Regions from separate parts of the Homo sapiens genome. Here region 1 is linked to region 2. The links are contacts of gene promoters, found by promoter capture Hi-C in human tissues and cell types (Jung and others, 2019). All regions are on one chromosome and are shown on one strand. Each heading gives the region's core, a stretch centred on a gene start or on the middle of the fragment in contact. The rest is flanking DNA. Distances are from core to core; before and after follow the strand shown. Region 1 has its middle 9.8 kb from the start of WFDC11. Region 2 holds the start of WFDC8 (WAP four-disulfide core domain 8).

What was found. The method cuts DNA at HindIII sites, captures the fragments that hold promoters and counts their contacts. A contact is called where the count stands out against the background at its distance.
Region 1: a fragment that was not itself captured here is called in contact with the fragment with the promoter of WFDC8 in region 2 in 6 of the 25 tissues and cell types used here (H1 embryonic stem cells, bladder, dorsolateral prefrontal cortex and 3 more).

The regions. Positions count from the first base shown.
Region 1 is chr20:45,678,109-45,681,892 of GRCh38, reverse strand. No RefSeq gene overlaps it. Among named protein-coding and RNA genes, the nearest start is that of WFDC11, 9.8 kb to the right of the region's middle. The HindIII fragment of the contact is 5,827 bases long and covers 1-3,784 here.
Region 2 is chr20:45,577,124-45,580,626 of GRCh38, reverse strand. WFDC8 (WAP four-disulfide core domain 8) reads left to right here and starts at 1,343. Exons shown (of 6, transcript NM_130896.3): 1 at 1,343-1,405. The coding sequence starts at 1,380. RefSeq lists an enhancer at 1,593-2,528. The HindIII fragment of the contact is 18,093 bases long and covers 1-3,503 here.

The DNA.
Region 1 (3,784 bases), core at 690-3,189, 100 kb before region 2:
GACTTAAAAAAATGCAGCTTCTTGTTTTTCTCTGGGAGGGGTTTATGACACTCTTCTAGGGGCTACTTGGTGGCTGGGCTTCTAATTAACTTGCATTAATTAACTTGCATTGGGGAGTTAAAGAGGCAAATAGTAGCCTGCTGGTAGCCTCAGAAGCAGATCAACACTTCCTAAGCCTTTTCCCCTGGCTCACTCCAGTGATAACTCCAGGTCTATTACTCCTTCCTGGAGAGAGTTTGTCCACATGTAGAATGCCTCAACTTTTGCAGCTTCTACTGGAAGGACTGCACTCTAAAACTCCCAGCTTTAGGAGCAGAGAGGACTATGCATATGAGAATCTCTCTAGACAACAGACAAGAGTGGTAGGTTTATACAGGTGCACACGTATTTCTGGGGGTTTCAAACTCTTGGAGTGGTACAGAAAAGGGGCTTAAAAATGCAGCTCCCTGTTACTCCCTGTAAGGGGTTTATGCCATGCATTGAGTGGCCCAACTTTTACAGCAGCTACCACCTGAAACTATGCATACTCAAGTCTTCCCAGATCACATACAAAAAGGTTTTTTTGTTTGTTTGTTTGTTTTTTAAACAGAGTCTCACTCTGCCACCCAGACTGGAGTGCAATGGCATAATCTTGGCTCACTGCAACCTCCACCTCCCGGGTTCAAGCGGTTCTCCTGTCTCAGCCTCCCAAGTAGCTGGGACTACAGGCATGCACCACCACATCTGGCTAATGTTCTGTATTTTTAGTGGAGACAGCGTTTCACCATGTTGGCCAGGCTGGTCTTGAACTCCTGACCTCAAGTGACCCACCCACTTCAGCCTCCCAAAGTACTGGGATTACAGGCTGAGCCATTGCACCCAGCCAAAAAGGTGGTTTTAAATGGACATAATAACACTGCCAGGGTCTACATCTCCTGGGAGCAGTGTAGAAAAGGGACTAGAATGCTGAGCTCCCATTTTCTCTTTGCAAGGGGTTTCCTGCTTACTCTATTGGTGGCTACTTGATGACCTTGCTTTTAATGAATTTGCATTGAGGACCTAAGGGGAGAAAGTAGCTCCCTGTCATCCTGAGCTTGAGCTGAGCACTTTCTGAGCCTTTCCTTTGGCTCATCCCAGTGATAAATCCAGTCGACCCATTCTTCCTGGAAGGAGTTTGTCCGTGTACTGAGTACCTAAGCTTCTATAGTTTCCACCCAAGGGACTGTCTCCTTATCAACCTAGCTCTGGGGACTAATGGGGCTTTGCATTCCCAATGAGACTTTGCATTCCTAAGCGGCCTGGGACTACAGAAAACAAAGACATGGGCATACAACGGGCCCACTTTCAGCATGTATTAGTCCATTCTCTCATTGCTATAAATAAATACTCAAGATTGCATAATTTATAAAGAAAAGAGGTTTAATTGGCTCATGGTTCTATGGGCTATACAGGAAGCATGGCACTATCTGCTTCTGAGGAGGCCTCAGGAGCTTTTACTCATGGCAGAAGACAAAGCCAGAGCAGGCATCTTCACATGGCTGGAGGAGGAGCGGGGTGAGGGATGTACTATATACTTTTAAACAACCACATCTCACTCACTATCATGAGAACAGCACCAAAGAGATGATGTTAAACCATTCATGAAGGATTTACCCCCGTGATCCAATCACCTCTCACCAGGTCCACCGCCAACATTGGGGATTACAACTTGACATGAGATTTGGATGGGGACACAGATTCTAACCATATCAAGCAGCTATCTCACCAGGATCAGAGGGTGCAGTTTGGACACAAGTATAGGCATTTGTCACAGATTATCTCTCCAGCTTAGTGCAGAGAGAGGGAGAGATAAATACTGGCATTCACCTTCACCATAGGATGGAAGAAACCAGAATACTCACCACCCTCCCCCTGCCATACATGCAAAAAGACAGAGAAAGTTTTAAAAACAGTGAGGAAATAGTGAATTGCTACACACAAGAGAACCCTCCCTTAGATTATCAGCAGATTTCTCAGCAGAAACTTTGTAGGCCAGAAGGGGGTGGGATGTTATATTAAAAATCCTGAATAAAACAACCCTGTCAACCAAGAATACTATACCCAGAAATCTTTTCTTTCAAAAATGAAGGGGTGATAAAGACTTTCTCAGACAAACAGAAGCTGAGAGAGTTTATTACTACTAGACTTGCCTTACAAGAAGTGCTAAAGAGAGTTCTTCAAGCTGAAGAAGAGGACACTAATTAGTGACTGGAAAACATATGAAAGTATAACATTCACTGATAAAAGTAAATACATTGTGAAATCCAAAATACTCTGATACTGTAATGTCAGTGGGTAAATAAATTATATCTTTAATAACATTAAAAGGCAAAGCTATTAAAAACAATGAAACCTACAATAATTTGTCAAGGGATACAAATTATAAAAAGATGCAGATTGTGATATCAAAAACTTAAGACAAATTTTCTCTTCTCTGAGGCTAGCTTGACTTCTCTTTGTTCTGCGTTCCACTGTTACCTAAAGAGTGTCCTTAGTGCCTGCCTCACAGCCCAGCACAAGGATATGAGCTGCAGAGAGTGACAATACAAGAAAGGCTACTCTGTGGATATGTCTCTGGTGCAAGAGCTGGTTTGCCCTGTCCTGGAGAATTTTCCCAGGATGGGGAAAGCCATGTGCTTCTTAATCCATCCCTGATACCTCAGGACTAAACTGGGAAGTGATGTCAGCAAGATGGCAGAATAGATCTCCTGGGATCACTTCCTGACACAAAAATAAAATGAAAAACTATTCAAAGACAAGAATGCCACCCTGAATACACCAGAACTTGAGAAGCAGAGAAACCCCCTGGGCTCATAGAATTGAGAGAAGCAGTGACAGGTAAGAGAAATGGTCATTTCAGCCTGTTCCACCCTCTCTCCCAGGCCATAATAATACCACTCACAGAGAACTTCCCTAGACCCACAGTTGCTGAGATGAGAAGAAGGAATTGGAGGTGGATATTTGATCTTCCCACTTGTCTAGGAATCTTAATGGTAAGTCCACTCCAGTTTCATCCCACTAGAGAACCAAGAGGGCTGAAAAACCTGGGGTGAATTGGGGACAAAGAGTAGGTCACTGATTGCAGCAACTGGCATGTGGATCTTGGTGATTGTTCAGTGCTTTGATCAGTGGGGATGCCATATTGAAGAGACTGGTGGGGGGGCCAGAGTATTGTAGGGGACAAAATTTATGGGAAGGCCCAAATCCACAAAGCCCAGGTGCACATGTGAAGCTTTTCCCTGGCCCAGAAACAACTAAAAGGTCAAGATTTTCAGTACCCACCTAAGTTTTTCCCACACTGAGAAACAATAGTAGGGCAGCAATATTGTTCCAGGGCATTTAAGCTGTGGTGCTCACTATAAGTTTTCCTTACACTGGGAAACAATGACAGGGCAATGAGTTAGGTCCAGTGCAATGTTTTAGTTCTGATGCTCACTATTAAGCCCTCTCTACAGTGTAAAGCAACAACAGGCCAGTGTTTAAGTTCTAATACTAAGAAGTAAAGGTCTAACACCATGAAAGAGCACCTGCAAAAGCTGGAAGAGTTGGCAGTCGCCTCAAATATGCAGGCATCCATGTAAAGATACAAGGCTTGTGAAAACTCAGAAATATTCAATACCATCAAAAGAAATCAACAAAGCTCCAGGAATGGTCCCAGAAGAATTGAAGATTTATAGAAACAATGAAAAAAAAAACCAAGCAATAGAAATAGAAATACTAGTAATAAAGAATAAAATAATTGAACTGAAAAACTCATTATAAAGCT
Region 2 (3,503 bases), core at 94-2,593:
CACAGTGATGTATTTCCATACTCGTAGCAGGATGGTAAAAATGAAAAGATTGTGACAGTTCTACATACAGCATGGTTATGGAACAATAGGAACTCTCAACTACCAATGGCAAGGCTGTGAATTGGTACAAACTCTTTGGGAAATAATTTGGTATCAGCTTGAGAAGCTGAAGATATGCATACCCTGTAACCCATCATTCCCTATGCTGAATGTATAACCTACAAGAACACCTGCCCACGTGCTCCAGCAAATGCACACAGAGTGTTCATAGCAGCTTTATTCTTTTTTTTACATGAGTAAATTGTTTAAAATTTTTTTGACATTTAAAAACATTTATTAATTCATTTAACGTAATAAACTTATTACATGTTGATATAAATAACATTTTTATTTAGAAAATCCTAGTTTTTTATTATACTTTAAGTTCTGGGATACACGTGCAGAACGTTATTACATACATGCTATGTATACACACAGCAGCTTTATTCTTAACAGCTGCAAACTATAAACAACTCAGTAGAGATGTGTGTAGTCATACAATAGATGGCATGGCAATGAAAATTGACAAAATACAGCTACACAAAACAATGTGGATGGAATTCATTAATATAATGTTGAACACAAAAAGCCAGGCACAAAAGAATACATTCCAAGTGACTCCATTGATATAGAACAGAAGCAGACAAAAACAAAAACATATTTAGGGGAATACATATGATCTTGAAAATATGAAAAAGAAAGTCACTACCATTAGCTGCCTTTGAGAGCATAGGAAGGGGTTGTGACTGGAAAAGAATGAAAAAGGAGCAGAAAGTGTTGGAAATTTTTTACTTGATTTCAGTGATAGTTTAATGAGTGGTCACTTCGTAATAGTTCGTTAGACTGAACATTAATGTTTCATGCATATTTTTATTTTTGTGGTGTTTTTCACAATACATATTTTTACAAAAAGGAAAAGTAGCTCTTCCTTGTTTTGTCTCCTTTTCTTTACTAACTGAACTAGTCAGTCCTAAAGCCATTAGATAGGCACATTTAGCAAGGTAGGCGTTTGCCCCAAGGGGAAGGGAGCCACGGCTGGCTCCGTGTGGGCATCAGAGCTGGAACAGGTCAAGGAGGGTGTCTCTGTAGGAGGGCTGCTGGCCTGGTGTGCTGGAGCCAGGGGTAGATGAGAATGCCCAGTGAAGAGGCAAGAAGCAGCATAGCATGGAGACCAGCCTGCCCATGTTGAGAAAGGCATCCCCCTGGGGCTAGAGGGGCAGACTGGCATAGAATGAGAGCCTGAGTGGGGTGAGCAGAGTGTCCAGGCAGGGGAGCAGATGAGGGAGGAGCCTTAGAGCTGGAGCAAAGTGAGGAAGCTGTCTCCATAGGGAAGAGGCCTGATGTGGACTGTCCGAACTGAAGGAGGGTGAGGAGGGTGTCTATGGGGGTGGGTAGCCAGACATGGAGGGTCTGAGCCCAAGGAGATGAGGAGGATACATAGAAGTTAGAGTGGTCGGCTGTGGGGAGTTGGGCCAAGCATAGTGAGGAGGGGTTCCACAGAACAGAGCTGTCTTGTGTCAGGAATCAGAGCCTAAGCAGGGTGAAGAGGGCATCAATGCATCCAGCGATTCTCCTGCCTTAGCCTCCCTAGTAGCTGGGACTACAGGTGTGCGCCACCACGCTCGGCTAAGTTTTGCATTTTTAGTAGAGACGGGGTTTCACCATGTTGGCCAGGCTGGTCTCGAATGCAACCTGATATGGCTGTTGGAGCCCAAGTAGGGTAAGTTGGGCATCTTTGAGTGGCCCAGTGTGGAGGGGCAGAGCCTGAGCAAGGTAAAGTTTGATATTTTAAATTAAACAAGCATATAATATGTATCTAAACATTTTCAAAAAATTAAAACAGGAGTAGTAGTGATGGGTTATATTATTATTCACAACTATTCATTCCATCTTTCCTTTAAGAGGACACTCCTGTCCATTACCTTGCAATTTTAGAACGGCCCGTGGAAGGAAGACACATTTCTGTCTCATTGACTTTGGGTTTGCTGTCAGCTGTGCTTTGCCTATTGGAGTATGAGCAGATGTAGCATATGCATAGTGAGTTTTGCACTGTGAGTTTCTGCCAGCTCCTTTGTGCTTTCTCTCTGCCAGGAGAAGGGGCCTAATCCACATAGAGGCTGCTTCTTTTGTCTTGGTCCCACAGCCTCAAGTAGAGCCCCCACTTGGAACAAAGCAGTAGACAATTTGCCTAGGAAGTCTTTTGTTGTGGCAAGCCATGGAGAGCTCAAAGTTCTTTGTACACCAAAGTAATAAAAATACAGTTGATTCCCATTACTTGGGGGTAGTTATGTTCTGTAAAGTCACTGTGAACACCGGATTAGCAAATACTGAGCCATTGCTCCTAGGGAAAATGCAAGCCTCTGACCACACATTTTCATCATTTGATCAATACATAACCTTGTTTTTATATGTGCTTCTGTCTGAAGACACATGACAGAGATGGTAATTAGAAGGTGCACACAGAAGACTTCTGGGAAGCTGGCTACTTTCTATTTTTTAATCTGTGTGGTTAATTATTAAATAAAACTCTACATACTTTATTTATTTATTTATTTTTATTTTTATTTTTTTTGTTTTGTTTGAGAGGGAATCTCTCTCTGTCCCCCAGGCTGGAGCATAGTGGTGTGATCTCGGCTCTCTGCAACCTCCACCTTCTGGGTTCAAGGGATCCTCCTGCCTTAGCCTCCTGAGTAGCTGGGACTACAGGTGTGCACCACCACTCCAGGCTAATTTTTGTATTTTTAGTAGAGACAGGGTTTCACCGTGTTGGCCAGGCTAGTCTTGAACTCCTGACCACAGGTGATCTGCCTGCCTCAGCCTCCCAAAGTGCTGGGATTACAGGCATGAGCCACCGTGCTGGCCCTGTCTTTATTTTTTAAACATGTATATAGGCCAGGCGCGGTGGCTCATGCCTGTAATCCCAGCACTTTGGGAGGCTGAGGCAGGCGGATCACTAGGTCAGGAGATTGAGACCATCCTGGCCAACACAGTGAAACCTCATCTCTACTAAAAATACAAAAAATTAGCAGGACGTGGTGGTGGGTGCCTGTAATCCCAGCTACTCGGGAGTCTGAGGCAGGAGAATCACTTGAACCCAGAAGGCGGAGGTTGCAGCGAGCCGAGATCGCACTACTGTACTCTAGCCTGGCGACAGAGTGAGACTCCATCTCAAAAAAAAAAAAAGACACCTTATGTAATATATATTATTGTTTCATTAACATTGAATTGTGGCTGAAAGCCCTGTAACTCATGCCTGAACCAAGCTTATCTGACACAAGTAATTTCTTTGTAAGGCACATTGCAGGCCTCTTGCTCTTAGGACACTTGACAGCACTTTAGTAATTCTTGGCAGCCATTTTAAACAGCAAACTCACCAACAAAAAGCACAAAAATGTGAAAAATGTGACACTAAGTAGACTGCAAAAAGGAAGCTTGTTTATAGTAGTAGAAGAGCTTAAACAAGC